Regions from separate parts of the Homo sapiens genome. Here regions 1, 3 and 4 are each linked to region 2. Evidence: promoter capture Hi-C in 16 types of primary human blood cells and fetal thymus (Javierre and others, 2016). All regions are on one chromosome and are shown on one strand. Each heading gives the region's core, a stretch centred on a gene start or on the middle of the fragment in contact. The rest is flanking DNA. Distances are from core to core; before and after follow the strand shown.

The links. Contacts are between HindIII fragments. The CHiCAGO score rates a contact against its expected background, and 5 or more counts as called.
Region 1: a contact is called between a fragment that was not itself captured here and the fragment with the promoter of MYOG in region 2, in 3 of 17 cell types (M0 macrophages, M2 macrophages and M1 macrophages). The highest score is 6.2, in M0 macrophages.
Region 3: a contact is called between a fragment that was not itself captured here and the fragment with the promoter of MYOG in region 2, in 3 of 17 cell types (M2 macrophages, M1 macrophages and endothelial precursors). The highest score is 6.4, in M2 macrophages.
Region 4: a fragment that was not itself captured here is called in contact with the fragment with the promoter of MYOG in region 2 in 1 of 17 cell types (endothelial precursors); the score reaches 5.6 in endothelial precursors.

Annotation. Positions count from the first base shown.
Region 1 is chr1:203,267,791-203,271,153 of GRCh38, forward strand. LOC124904486 (a long non-coding RNA gene) reads right to left here. Exons shown (of 2, transcript XR_007066798.1): 2 at 1-3,363. Among named protein-coding and RNA genes, the nearest start is that of LINC01353, 18 kb to the right of the region's middle. The HindIII fragment of the contact is 1,041 bases long and covers 1,282-2,322 here.
Region 2 is chr1:203,084,688-203,088,187 of GRCh38, forward strand. MYOG (myogenin) reads right to left here and starts at 1,325. Exons shown (of 3, transcript NM_002479.6): 1 at 804-1,325; 2 at 1-41. The coding sequence starts at 1,274. MYOPARR (myogenin promoter associated myogenic regulatory antisense long non coding RNA) reads left to right here. Exons shown (of 3, transcript NR_160550.1): 3 at 1,796-3,500. RefSeq lists an enhancer at 2,644-3,161. The HindIII fragment of the contact is 23,849 bases long and covers 1-3,500 here.
Region 3 is chr1:203,249,860-203,253,247 of GRCh38, forward strand. No RefSeq gene overlaps it. Among named protein-coding and RNA genes, the nearest start is that of CHIT1, 22 kb to the left of the region's middle. The HindIII fragment of the contact is 808 bases long and covers 982-1,789 here.
Region 4 is chr1:203,232,677-203,236,088 of GRCh38, forward strand. No RefSeq gene overlaps it. Among named protein-coding and RNA genes, the nearest start is that of CHIT1, 4.7 kb to the left of the region's middle. The HindIII fragment of the contact is 2,393 bases long and covers 765-3,157 here.

The DNA.
Region 1 (3,363 bases), core at 552-3,051, 180 kb after region 2:
GGAGGAATTTTGTGGGCACCCCAGCAGGGGGCTTCCAGCCCCTGAGCCGTGGCCTGCCGTTCTCTTCCCCACAATGTTCGCTCTCTTGACTGTGGCCCGGTTCTGTCCAGGGACAACCCAGAGAACTCTTCTGCCCTCAATGGGCTGCAACGCACTTTCTCCAGCAAGGACTGAACCCCAGTCTCGGAGAGCTAGGCTTCTTCACGTTCGTTCTTTCTTTTTGGGTTCTCCCCCACCCCTGCGAGATCATCTAACATTCCTCTTTATTCCCACTGCACCATTAATTTCTATCCTGACTGATTCACAACCCCGAGTTCCGAAGCAAGGGCAAGCTGTGGGGCGCTTCTTGCCGTCTCTACTCAAAACGGAAAAAGCTGGCCAGGCGCGGTGGCTCACGTCTGTAATCCCAGCACTTTGGGAGACTGAGACAGGAGGATCGCTTGAGCCCAGGAGTTCAAGATCAGTCTGGACAACGTAAGGAGACCCTGTCTCTTCAAATATATATATATATATATATATATATATATATACACACACACACACACACATATACATATGTGTATATATACATATATATGTGTGTATATATATACACATATATGTGTGTGTATATATGTATATATGTATATAATTATATATGTATATATGTGTATATATACGTATATAATTATATATACACACATATATGTGTATATATGTAAAATTAGCCAGGCATGGTGGTACGTACCTATGGTCTCAGCTACTCAGGAGGCTGAGGCAGGAGGATCGCCTGAGCCCTGGGGTGTTGAGGCTGTGGTGAGCTGTGATGGTGCCACTGCACTCCAGCCTGGGGCAGGGACTGAGACCCCATCTCAAAAAATAAAAATAAAAAGAATGGAAAGAACCAATGAAATCTTGATGCTATTAACACCTCTGAATATTTCACTGGTTTCTAGAATCCACACAAAACAGGAATCCTACAGAATGATGGCTTGCAGAGGACATTGTAACAGGGCAGTCAAACCAGTTGGAGAAGTGTGCTCTGTCCTATAAAAACGTGCTCCTTCCTGACGTCTACCCCATGTTGGTGGGCCCATGATCTCCTCCTAGACCTCTCAGCTGAAATCAGTCCTGTCCCTGTGTTTGGTGTCCTTCATACCCTCTCGTGGCTGCCTCCCTGCCACGGCCCTGGCTCAGGCCCTGGTCACCTTGCCTAGGGTAGTGGCTTCCCTGGGAATGCCATCTCCACTCAATACTCCTTCTGGTGCTAGAGTGCCCTGCTCAAGGCCTCACCTCCCACGAAGCTTCCTGAACAGCTTAACTCACTGTTTCTTCCTGTTCTGCCCTCTCCTATTATCTGTGCAAATCTGAAGGCACTTTCTGCTCTGTCATGTACCTGATCTTTCCTGCCAGCCTAGACTGCTTTGATGAAAACTGCATCAGATAGCAGAGGAAACACTTATTTGTATGGAAGTGGCGTCCTCTGCTGGTAGAAGTATGTAATGACTGGAACTTTTCCCTAGCTGTGTAAAGGACCCTCACTGCCCAAAGCTGAGACAACCAGTGATACCCAAGGAAACCCAGCTGCCCTTCTCTCTGCCCACCCCAGTCCCTAAGCATGTAAAATTCAATCCACTGACTCACTCACCAGATTTCCACACCTCACTATTACACTAAGATGTTCCTGATGCTCCAGTCTCATGGATAATGGCAATCTTTAACATTAATTGGATATGCACTGTATATGCCAGGCACTGGGCTAATCTCTTCATCTGTATTATATTATTTAACCCTCATAGCAACTTTGTACGGCAGACAAGTGGACCAGATTCCTTAAAAGCAGAGCCTGGGACAGATTTCATGCATATCTTCTTCTGTTGGGGAAGAACCCTCAGAAGAAAGAAAAGGAAGGAGAGTGGGGTGGGGAAGGAGGGAGCCAGGCTGTGGTGTCAGCTGTGGCTGAGCTGCGGCCTGATTTCATGGGGATCCCTGAAGCATGTGCTACACCAGAGTTCATCTTGTCTTGAGGTCGGGGACTGGCCTTTCCTGCCCCTGTGTCAGACAAGCATCGGCTGCAAGCCCCAAGTAAGGCAGCTTCCATTCCCGGGGAAGTCTCTGCAGAGGGAATAACTGTGAACTGTTACCAGCCAAACCTCACAGCAGCCGGTGGGCAGGGATGGAGGGTTGCACCAGACCAGTAAAGGGGATTTGGCTGGGCACTAATAGCAACCATGGTACTGTTATTTCTACTGTACAAATGCAGAATTATAATCTTCCAGGTTTGTAGATACTTTATAGATTTTGAGTGTTTTCATATTCATTACCTCATTCAATGTTACAGTAAGCTTGAGAGGTAGTGATCATGATCCCCACTTTATGAATGAGAGTGAGAAGTGGGAGACTTCCTCAGGATTGTCCAGCCAATAAATACCTTCTCTGTTTATAAATAGCGTCTTCTCAGATACATAGGCAGCTGTATTGGGTCCCAGTCCAACCTCTTCCCTGTGACATTCAGGCTCTGGTCGTTTACCAAGGATCTTACAGCCCTTTTAACTCAAAAGAGCCATGAAGCTGGCAACCTTCCTTGCTGAGACTAGGTACGAGGATACACCTCCTATCAGGTGAGGCCTTACCTTGCCTGCCTGACACTTTGCTGGGCTCAGAATGCTTCTCCAAATTCCCCCATGGAAAGAAGACACCCGGGCACTTCTCACCTGCTCCTGCTTCTGCAGTTCCCTTGGCAGTTTCCTTAGAGGTGTCCCAGCAAGCTAGAGTCTGTCAGAGGACATTGAGGGCCAGGCCAGAGAAGTTTAGAAAGAGTCCCAGGACTACCTGAGCACTGCCTTCACCTGCCACAGGGGTAGCTGTGCAGCCAGTCTTGTGGCAGAGGCTGGGGTTTCCTGGATCTTAGAAGTGTCACCTCTTCCACCCTCTCAGGGCCCTGGACTTTCGCCCTCAAGCTGCCTCTGGATCTAGCAAAGGCCCTGAGCCATCTTTGGAATGGATGAGTTCGAAAAGCTGCATTAGAGTGGCTCCCCTCCTTCAACGCCACCTCATCAGAGTTCTAAGGGATGCTTCACACCTAAGAGCTGATGAGGTACAGCAGGAGCACACAGGGGACCCAGAAACCTCGCATTGTGTTGAGAAACAGCTGACTGACTCAGGTTCAAATCCCCCACTCTATCACAGGGCATCTCAGTTAAGATGAGGTAGAAATGAGAGTAACAGAAAATTCACAACAGCAGCAATTGTGTTGTTATTGAGTGGCCCTTGCCCTCATGGTACAAGGTAGCACCTGCCTACCAAGTAGCAAAACAGAGGGAGGGACAAAGAAGAAGGAGCAGACAGCAGATGCACAACCTGTGTCTTAAGAAAGGTTCCCAG
Region 2 (3,500 bases), core at 75-2,574:
GGACTGCAGGAGGCGCTGTGAGAGCTGCATTCGCTGGGCACCTGCAAGACAGGGCGAAGGCCCAAGGTCGGGGCACAGCCATTCTTTGATGTCTCTCTCTGCCTAGTCCCAGTGGGCAGAAGTACCTGTGGTGGGGTTGGAGGGTGGGCCACAGGCTGTGGCCTTCCAGCCCAGGCCATCCCCAACCCCAGAATCTTTGTAACTAGCTCCTCTCACACCCCAGAGGCCCTGCTTCCAGGCCTTCCTGGCTTCCATCCTGGGTGGTGGTTCTGCTCTCACAGGACACCAGCTTAAAGGGGTCCCTGGTTCTCCTGACTCTGGCGATAAGGGTGATGGAGACAGATTTTGTGGCCCAGTGAAGGTCGCTCTGTGCAGGCCTGCTGGAGTTCCAATGAGACTGAGTGGGTTTTCTCTCTGCTCAGCCACACCCAGGATGGGGGCAAAGCAGTCTTCTCTGGTGAACTTGGCCTGGCCTTTTAGGCTCTGACTCAGGCGCTGGGATTAATCCTCACCCTCACCTGGGCTGACTGTGGCCTTGCTCCTGATCTTTCTTCAGTCCTATGTTCCCCACCCCAACCCCTTCTGCACTTCCTCCCCACTGCCTTTATCTTGTCTGGAAAGAACACAGGACACAGGAGGTCAGCTGGATAGCCCAGCTCTGACCAGGGAAGGGCTCCTGCAGCCCCTCGACCCTGTCTGGCACCTGCACCAACCCTCTGAGCCCCTCTTGGGGTCTTGAGGCTGTCCAGGTGCCTCCCTCTGGCCCCGTCCCCTTGGGGCAGGGGGATGGGATGGCCACTTACCCCTGGCTGGGGCCCGCCCCCGCCCCGGTAGCGGAGGTCACGCTCCTCCTGGTTGAGGGAGCTGAGCAGGGCCTGGAGGCGCTCGATGTACTGGATGGCACTGCGCAGGATCTCCACCTTGGGCAGCCGCTGGTTGGGGTTGAGCAGGGTGCTTCTCTTCAGGGCCTCGAAGGCCTCATTCACCTTCTTGAGCCTGCGCTTCTCCCTCAGTGTGGCCGCCCGCCGCCGGTCCACGGACACCGACTTCCTCTTACACACCTTACACGCCCACGGCAGGCACTGGCCTGGACAGTGCTCGGGGGTCCCCAGCCCCTTGTCCTCAAGGGGCCCTGGGGCCTCGGGGCTCAGGGTGAGCTCCGTCCGCTCGTAGCCTGGTGGTTCGAAGCCCTGGAGGTGGACAGGCAGGTAGTTTTCCCCATCATAGAAGCGGGGTTCCTGGTAGAAGTAGGGGGATGTCTCATACAGCTCCATGGGGTCGGAAAAGGCTTGTTCCTGCCACCAGCCCCCAAGCTCCAGCAGCCCCTCACGCCAACTGCTGGGTGCCATTTAAACCCTCCCCGCTGGCATGGAACCAGAGATAAATATAGCCAACGCCACAGAAACCTGAGCCCCCTCTAAGCTGTTGCTGCACATCAAGGCGTTTACAGTGGATTAGATGTGATTCCCCTTCTTTCTCCCGCATGGCCCCCACCCCACCCTGCCAGCCTGCCCCTGGCCCAGGCGGGCTCCTGTGCACGGGTCGGGAGGCCGTCGGGTGTAATTTGATTAGTTTTCATTTCTCAGCAGCCCCTGTGGGGCAGGGGCGTTGGGGGAGGACACATTCCCCTCTCATCTGCTCCTTTCAATTACTCCTAGCTGGGCGGCCTGCCTGCTGTCTCCTTGCAGTCCCGAAGAAGCTGGTGGGTATAGGGGGAGGAGGGAACAAGGAAGGGTAGGCTTAGGCTGGAAGGGGCCTTAAGAGCCAACTTATCCATCTCCTTGCTTCCTGACAGCACCTTAACCACACTACATCAGTCGATGAGACTCTTTTAAAGACTTCCCTCCGGAAAGAATGGGACTGCTTCAGATTCTGGGCATTCATGGGCACTCAGTATCCAGGGATAAGAAGGATCAAGACTCAGAGCAGCTAACAGATTCCACTTTTGGGGTTCCCAAGCAGCTTTGAGCTGTATGTTCTCTTAGGTCTCATCTGGGGGGGTAAATTGAGGCAAGAGAAATTATTTGGGTTTTGGTTTTCTTGGCAGGGGTAAAGAGAAATTTCCTCTTTAATACAGCAGCCGTGGTCAGAGCAGAGATTAGAATTTACAGCCTACACGTTGCCACCTTCCCCAGAGCGGCAAGGTCAAGATGTCCTAAGCTCCCTGTCTCCTCCCTGTCTCACTCCGGACCATTGATCTGTCCTTCTATGTTACCTCCTCAACTCTTTTTCCAACACCAGAATTTTCCTGGCTCATTAATGTGGACGGGGGTGAAAAAGTAGAAAAAACAGAGCCCTTCAAACTCAGTTTAAATCTCCTCTCTCCTTGGCCACCGGGCTTGGTTGTTCTGCCTCTTACTGTCTGAGCCATCAATTTTACACGTATCATGCAGGTCTCAAATGTCAGGTAGAGCAGGGACTATTTAATCTTCAGGCCTCTCAGGCCATGGTCACCTCTCAGTAGGTGCCTCAGGGTCTGAGAGGACAAATTCCTTCCAATGCAGTGGGCAGACCTTAGACACTAGCAGTGAACAAGGCTCAGTCTTAGGGCTGGGGATTATAGGGACACCCCAGACAGGATCCCTGCCCTCGAACTTACCATCTGATAGACAACGGTGATCACCTCTTTCTACCTAGCCCCTGATGCCCAAATCTCCTCCGAGGCGGCTACTGTTCAGCTTCTGCTCACGTCAGGAGACAGCCCGTTCCATTGACGTGTAGCTTTGGGCTGCAATCTGCTCCCTCTATCTTTTATCCTTTGTTCCCAGTTTTTTCCTCCCCATAGACTAATGTCCTGCTCCTTATCCTACGACAGATCAAACTGACAAGTTCAAGCCAGTGGCAAGGACAATAAGAGGAAGGGGAACCCTGCTGGGGACTCATGGGAGACTTCACAGGGAACATGAGATCTGCGAGGCATGTGAAGAACCAGTGTTCCTTCCTCTCATTATTCACAGCAGGGAGCCAGGAGAATTCTGATGTCCTTTTGGGACAGGAAATGGAGGGAAGGAGGGAACATAGCTGGACAACAAAAGAACCCTAAGCATGTTGAGGGAGAGCAGTGAGGTCTTAATTCTGTTCTTGGCCTTACCAGCATGATAGAAAGTAGCAGCATAGGCCGGGCGTGGTGGCTCATGCCTGTAGTCCTAGCACTTTGGGAGGCCAAGGCGGGTGGATCACGAGGTCAGGAGTTCAAGACCAGCCTGGCCAAGATGGTGAAACCCTGTCTCTACTAAAAATACAAAAATTAGCCAGGCATGGTGGTGGGCACTGTAATCCCAGCTACTTGGGAGGCTGAGGCAGGGAATTACTTGAACTCAGGAGGAGGAGGTTGCAGTGAGCCGAGTTCGCACCACTGTACTCCAGTCTGGGTGACACAGCGAGACTCTGCCTCAAAAAAAAAAAAAAAAAAAAAAAAAAAAAGTAGCAGCATAGGTACTGTGTGGGTTCTAAACTTTGCTTTCCCCTGACCAGCTGGGCTGAAGAAGAGTCTCTATTTC
Region 3 (3,388 bases), core at 136-2,635, 170 kb after region 2:
CAATCCTAGTACTTTAGAAGGCCAAGGTTGGGGGGATCACTTGAGGTCAGGAGTTCGAGACCAGCCTGGCCAAGTGGATTCATAGGCAAATTCTACCAAATGCCAAACTTTCTCAAATTCTTCTAAAGAATAGAATAAAAATCTCACCCCAGGCTGGGTGTGGTGGCTCACGCCTGTAATCCCAGTACTTTGGGAGGCCAAGGCAAGCAGATCACTTGAGGTCAAGAGTTGGAGACCAGCCTGGCAAACACGGTGAAACCCTGTCTCTACTAAAAATACAAAAATTAGCCAGGCATGGTGGCATGCACGTGTAATCCCAGCCACTTGGGAGGCTGAAGCAGGAGAATCGCTTGAACCCAGGAGGCAGAGGTTGCAGTGAACAGAAATCTTACCACTGCACTCCAGCCTGGTGACAGAGTGAGACCTTGTCTCAAAAAACTAAAACTAAAAGGTAGGTATTATCCACATAACTGATCTTTTTAATCTTGATTACCAGGCCGGGATACTATTTGCCAGGTTTCTACTTCTCCACCTGGCTTCCCTATTCTACTCTTTGGAAGCGAGTCAGTAAGTGCAGCCCACACTCTAGGGGTGAGGAGTTAAGCTCCACTTCCTTGGGGAAGAAGCAACTACATACCTTTATTATATAATTCTGTATGGGACATTTGTCCCTTCTCTCCCATTTATTTACTATATCATTTATTTATATCCATATGGACTCATAGATATTTATTTATGTTTTGAGTTATAATCAAATACTATTAGTACATTATTTATTTTGCTGCTCAAATTTTTCCAGCTTTGGCCACCGAGAGCTCTTTAATGTTGGCTTGTTTCAGTCAGCATAAAGTTTTTGAGACTCATCCATTTTGTTGTTATCAGTAGTCTGTTTCTTTTAATTGCAAGAAGTATTGTATTTTATGAATATATCCCACTTCATAAACATTGGGTTATTTCCAGTTTTGGCTATCAGAAATGCAAAGCTTCTATGAACAGTTATGTATACGTCTCTTCGTGGACATATGTTTTCATTTACTTTGAATAAATACACAGGTGTAAAATTAGAGTCATCAGCTAGCTTTATGTTTAATAAGAAGCTACCAAGCAAGCAACTTTTCAAAGTAATTGTGCCATTTCACACATCCAAGAGCAACGTGAGAGTTTTTGTTATGTCAAATGCTTGCCAACATGTGGTGTTGACAGTCTTTATAATTTTAGACATTCTAGTAGGCATGTAGTGATTCATTATGGCTTTAATTTGCCTTTGCCTGCTGAGTAATGATGTCGAGCACTTTTTTTATATGTCTTTGTCCATTCATATGTCTTTGTTTGCTTCTGAAAATGTTGCTCAAGTCTGTCATCCACATTTTTATTGTGTTAGAAGTTCTTTATTATTCTGGATAGAAATCCATATTCAGATATATGTACTGTGAATGTTTTCTACCAGCCTTTGGTTTTGCCTGTTCGTTTTCTTAGCTGAGTCTTTTTTTTTGTATTGTGGTAAAAACCACACAACATTAAACCATCCTAAACATTTTTAAATGTACATTTCAGTACTGTTAAGTATATTCACTTGTGCAACAAGTCTCTAGAAATTTTTCTTCTTGCAACACTGAAACTCTATACCTACCAAACATGAATTCCCCATCCCACCTCCCGCAAGTTCTTGGCGACTACCTTTTTACTTTATGTTTTGAGGATTCTGACTTATTTAGATACTTTATATGAGTGAATTATACAGTATTTGTCCATTTGTGACTGGCTTATTTCACTTAGCATAATGTCCTTAAGCTTCATTCATGTTGTAACATGCCCTTTTTTAAGGGCACATAAAATTCCATTATGTGCATATACCACATTTTCTTATCCAATTACCTGTTATTTCCTCCTGTTGGCTATTGTGAATAATCCTGCAATGAACATGGGTGTGCAAATATCTCTGAGATCTGCTTTGAAGCTTTTTGGCTATATACCCAAAAGGGGGATTGCTGGATCATATGATAGTTCTATTTTTAATGTTTTGAGAAACTCCATACTGTTTTTCATAACATCTGTATAATTTACTTTCCCACCACCAGTGCATGAGGACCCAAACTTCTCTGCATCCTTGTCAACACTTGTTATTTCCTGTTATTTTTATAATGGCTATCCTGATGGGTGTGAGGTGATATCTCATTGTGAGTTTTATTTACATTTCCCTAGTGATTAATGATGTTGAGCATATTTTCATGTACTTAATAACCATTCATATATCTTCTTTGGAGAAATGTCTATTTAAATCCTTTGCCAGTTTTTAAATTGGATTATTTGGGGTTTTTCTTGTTGTTAAGTTGTACAAGATCCTTATATATTCTGGATATTGACCCCTTATCAGATATATGACTTGCAACTCTTTTCTCCCATTCCATAGGTTGCCTTTTCTCTCTGTTGACTGTTACTTTGATGTGTAAAAAAACTTAAGTTTTATGTAGTACTATTTGTCTATTTTTTATTTTGTTGCCTGTGCTTTTGGTATCATATCCAAGAAATTATTGCCAAATCCAATTGTTGGCATATAATTGCTCATAATGGCATTTACATTTTAAGAAATTGCTGATAGTGAAGGACTTACTGTTGCCATTTTGTTCATTGTGTTCTGTTTCACTTGTAGCTTTCTTTGTCCCCCCCCCCTTTTTTCTTTTGATAATTTCTTTTGTGTTTCATTAATTTTTTTTTGTGGCCACAGATTTTGATTCCCTTCTCACTTCCTTTCCTTTACAGTCTTTGTCCATTTTCTGTTGCTGTAACAGAATACTTGAGACCAGGTAATTTATTTTTTAAAAAGAGGTTTGTTTAGCTCACAGTTCTTGATGCTGGGAAGTTCAAGATCAAACAGCTGCATCTGACGAGGGTCTCATGCTGTGTCATAACATGGAGGATGGCATCACATGGTGGTTATGCATGTGAGAGCACTGAGCGGGTACACACACAAGAGAGAAAACATGAGGGGTGACCTCACTTTATAACAACCCACTCTTGCGGTAACTAATCCAGTCACTGAAGAGCAATAATTCACTCCTGTGAAATGGCATTAATCCCTTCATAAGGACAGATGGCTTATGACCCAAATGCCTCTTAAAGGTCCCACCAGTTCTCAACACCATTACATGGGGAACAAGCCTTAACATGAATTTCAGTGGGGGATAAACCATATTCAAATCATAGCACTTACATTCTATAGTTACTGTCTTTGTGGTAACCATTGCAATTACGTGAAACATAACCTCTTAATGTTTTAACAATCTACTTTTAATGAGTACCATGTGGTGGTTTCCTGATTAAAGCCCCTTAATTCAGAAAAACTGCTTGCTTGCTTACTTGTTTGCCTGTTCTCTTACATAGGTGTGTC
Region 4 (3,412 bases), core at 711-3,210, 150 kb after region 2:
GGGGTGATCTCTGCTGAGGGGCTCTGTGTAAAAGGGCACTGGACATGGCTGGAGGGAGAGGAGAGAGATACAATGCCTTGCCAGCCTGGATTTATTTTACAGTATGCCTCAGTCTAGTAGGGCACATCCTGGGCTCACCTGATGGCCAGACCTGAATTGCAAGATTTCAAGGAATAAGTCCCTGCCTGGAGGCTGAGACCTGGGAGCAGAAGGCAGGCCCATGTCCACCAAAGCTGGGGAGGAGCCTTCCCCAGGGACTGACCCAGAGTTCCCACCTAAGTAGGCAGGTCCCAGCCACCAGTACAGATTGCCCATGTGTAGAACTGAGAGGTCTCTGATGCCTTCAGCAAACTTCAATTAACAGCCCACCACACCTTTGCTCCTAAATTGTGTCCCTCCTGGGGCTGCCCTCCCTGGCCCTCAAGTCCTACAGAGATCACTCTGAGTTAAGCCTTGCCTCTTCCACAGTCAATGTACTCCATACTACCTTCTGCTATCTTGGAACAACTCCTTCCATCCAGAATAGGAAAGAACCCTGGCTTGGAGACAGACAGAACTGGGTGTATCTCAATGGATATCACCAATAAATTACTTTCATAGATTTTATACTCTCCTTTCCAGCCCCATTGGCTTCTCCCACCCCTTTCTCAGCCACTGCCAAAGCCCAAACCAAGTAAAACCAGTGTGCTTGATATAAAATGAGGCTTCAAAGCAAGTCCCCGTCCCACCCTACTGCAGAGCAGATGCCTGTATAGAAATTCTAAAGCTTCTGCTGATTTGCATCCAACCTGGCTGGCTGAGCTGGGGCTAGTCACAGCCTCTCCAAGCCTTGGTTTTCTCATCTGTAAAATGGGGATAATACTACCTATCTTATTTGGTAATGATGTGGATCGAATAGATAATGTGTGAGAGGGCTTTGTAGGTGGGAGGACGCCAGCCAGATCTCATGGGACTGCATCTTGATGGTTGGTATCACACCTTTTTCTCTTGCTTCATGTGAGCATCTCATCTCTGTAGCTGGACTGTCCATAGCCAGGCAGAGTGGGGCCTCTCTCCACACCTCTCTATGTGTCCCTCAGCACCAAGCATACAGGGGGTCTTCAATTAATGTTTGTTAACTGTTCCTTCCCACGTCCCACCGTGTTCTTCCCCTTAGCAGTAAAAGACATCACCACCTATCCGGGTCTCCAAGTCACCCAGGAAGTGTCCTTGATCCTTCCCTTTCCTCACCCTCAATGATCAGGACCTATTAGACATCCTGCCTCCTGCTCCATCTCCTCCACCTCCTAACCACCGTCAACTCCCACCCTGTCCCCAGAAGAGCCTCCTACCTGCCTTCCTTCCTAATTCTCTTGCCTCTGCAATCCATTCTCCACACAGCAGCCAGAGTACACTTTGAGAAACTTAAATCAGATCCTGTTGCTTTCCTGCTAAGACCTTGCAATGGTTCCCACTTAAAATAAAATATCAACTCCTTAACTCTACCTCTAGAACACTCTAACTCTATTCTTTCATTAGGACAATGTTCTTTCAAAGGACACCTTCTTGGCAGGGAAGATAATTTATCACTGGACATAACTAAATTAAAAAAACAAATTTTTGAAGCCTCTCAGGCTCACTTATCCATTGTGCCTGGAGCTGAGGCGTTAGATCAGGTGGCAGAAAATCTTTATGGACTAAACCCCACGACTTTGATTAAGTCTATTGGAGGCCCCACTCTAGTAAATTTTGGAATTATGTTTCTCTGTTTAACCAGCTTGTCTTTAGTGTGTCAGACAAGTCAAAGAATCCTGCATCAAAATCGAGAGAATGAACAAGCCTTCATCGCCATGGCACATTTATATAAAAAGAAAGGGAGAGATGTTGCGGGAAGTCAGGGACCCTGAACGGAGGGACCGGCTGAAGCCATGGCAGAAGAACATAAATTGTGAAAATTTCATGGACATTTATTAGTTCCTCAAATTAATACTTTTATAATTTCTTACGCCTGTCTTTACTGCAATCTCTGAACATAAATTGTGAAGATTTCATGGACATTTATCACTTCCCCAATCAATATTCTTGTGATTTCCTATGCCTGTCTTTACTTTAATCTCTTAATCCCGCCATCTTTGTAAACTGAGGATGTATGTTGCCTCAGGACTCCGTGAGGATTGCGTTAACTGCATAAATTGTTTAAACAATATGAAATCTGGGCACCTTGAAAAAAGAACAGGATAACAGCGATGTTCAGGGAACAAGGGAGATAACCATTAGGTCTGGCTGCCTGACAGCCAGGTGGGACAGAGCTATATTTCTCTTCTTTCAAAAGCAAATAGGAGAAATATCGCTGAATTCTTTTTCTCAGCAAGGAACATCCCTGAGAAAGAGAATGCATTCCTAGGGGGAGGTCTCTAAAATGGCCGCTCTGGGGACATCTGTCTTTTACTGTTGTAGATAAGGGATGAAATAAGCACCAGTCTCCCGTAGCACTCCCAGGCTTATTAGGATGAGGAAATTCCTGCTTAATAAATTTTGGTCAGACCGCTTGTCTGCTCTCAAACCCTGTCTCCTGATAAGATGTCATCAATGACAATGCATGCCCGAAACTTCATTAGCAATTTTAATTTCGCCCCGGTCCTGTGATCTCGCCCTGCCTCCATTTGCCTTGTAATATTTTATTACCTTGTGAAGCATGTGATCTTTGTGACCCACACCCTATTCATACACTCCCTCCCCTTTCGAAAATCACTAATAAAAACTTGCTGGTTTTGCAGCTTGGGGGGCATCATGGAACCTGCTGACATGTGATGTCTCCCCCGGACACCCAGCTTTAAAATTTCTCTCTTTTGTACTCTTTCCCTTTATTTCTCAGACCGACTGACACTTAGGAAAAATAGAAAAGGGCCCACGTTGAATATTCAGGGGCGGGTTCTCCTGATACCTTTGCACCTGCCATTGCCTCTGCCCACAATGTTCTTCTCTGTGATCTTCACACAGCTGGCTCCTTCTCCTCATTCATGCTTTTCCTGACCACTCATAGAAAGTAGTGCCCTCCCCTCAAGTCACTCTCTGTTCTCTCCTGATGATTTATTTTCTCCTAAGTACTTTCATGGCTGAATTCATTCATTCATTCATTCATTTGTGTGTAGTGTCTGTTTCCTACCACTAGAATGTAAGCTTCATGAGAGGAGGGACTTTTCTTGTTTAGTCCTCTTTGTCTAGTACCCAGAATATTTCCCAGCACATAGTAGGTGCTTAATCCATATCTATTGAATTAATTAATTAATTAATGTGACCTCTCTGCATGATCTGGCCCACTATGATATTGTGATATAAGAAATGTATATTTGGTCTTTGTCCCCAATTTCTGGCACGGAGCTCCTAAAACCCTTAAAATTTCTTGAGAAATAGGGGTTCTAGGTGCATCTCT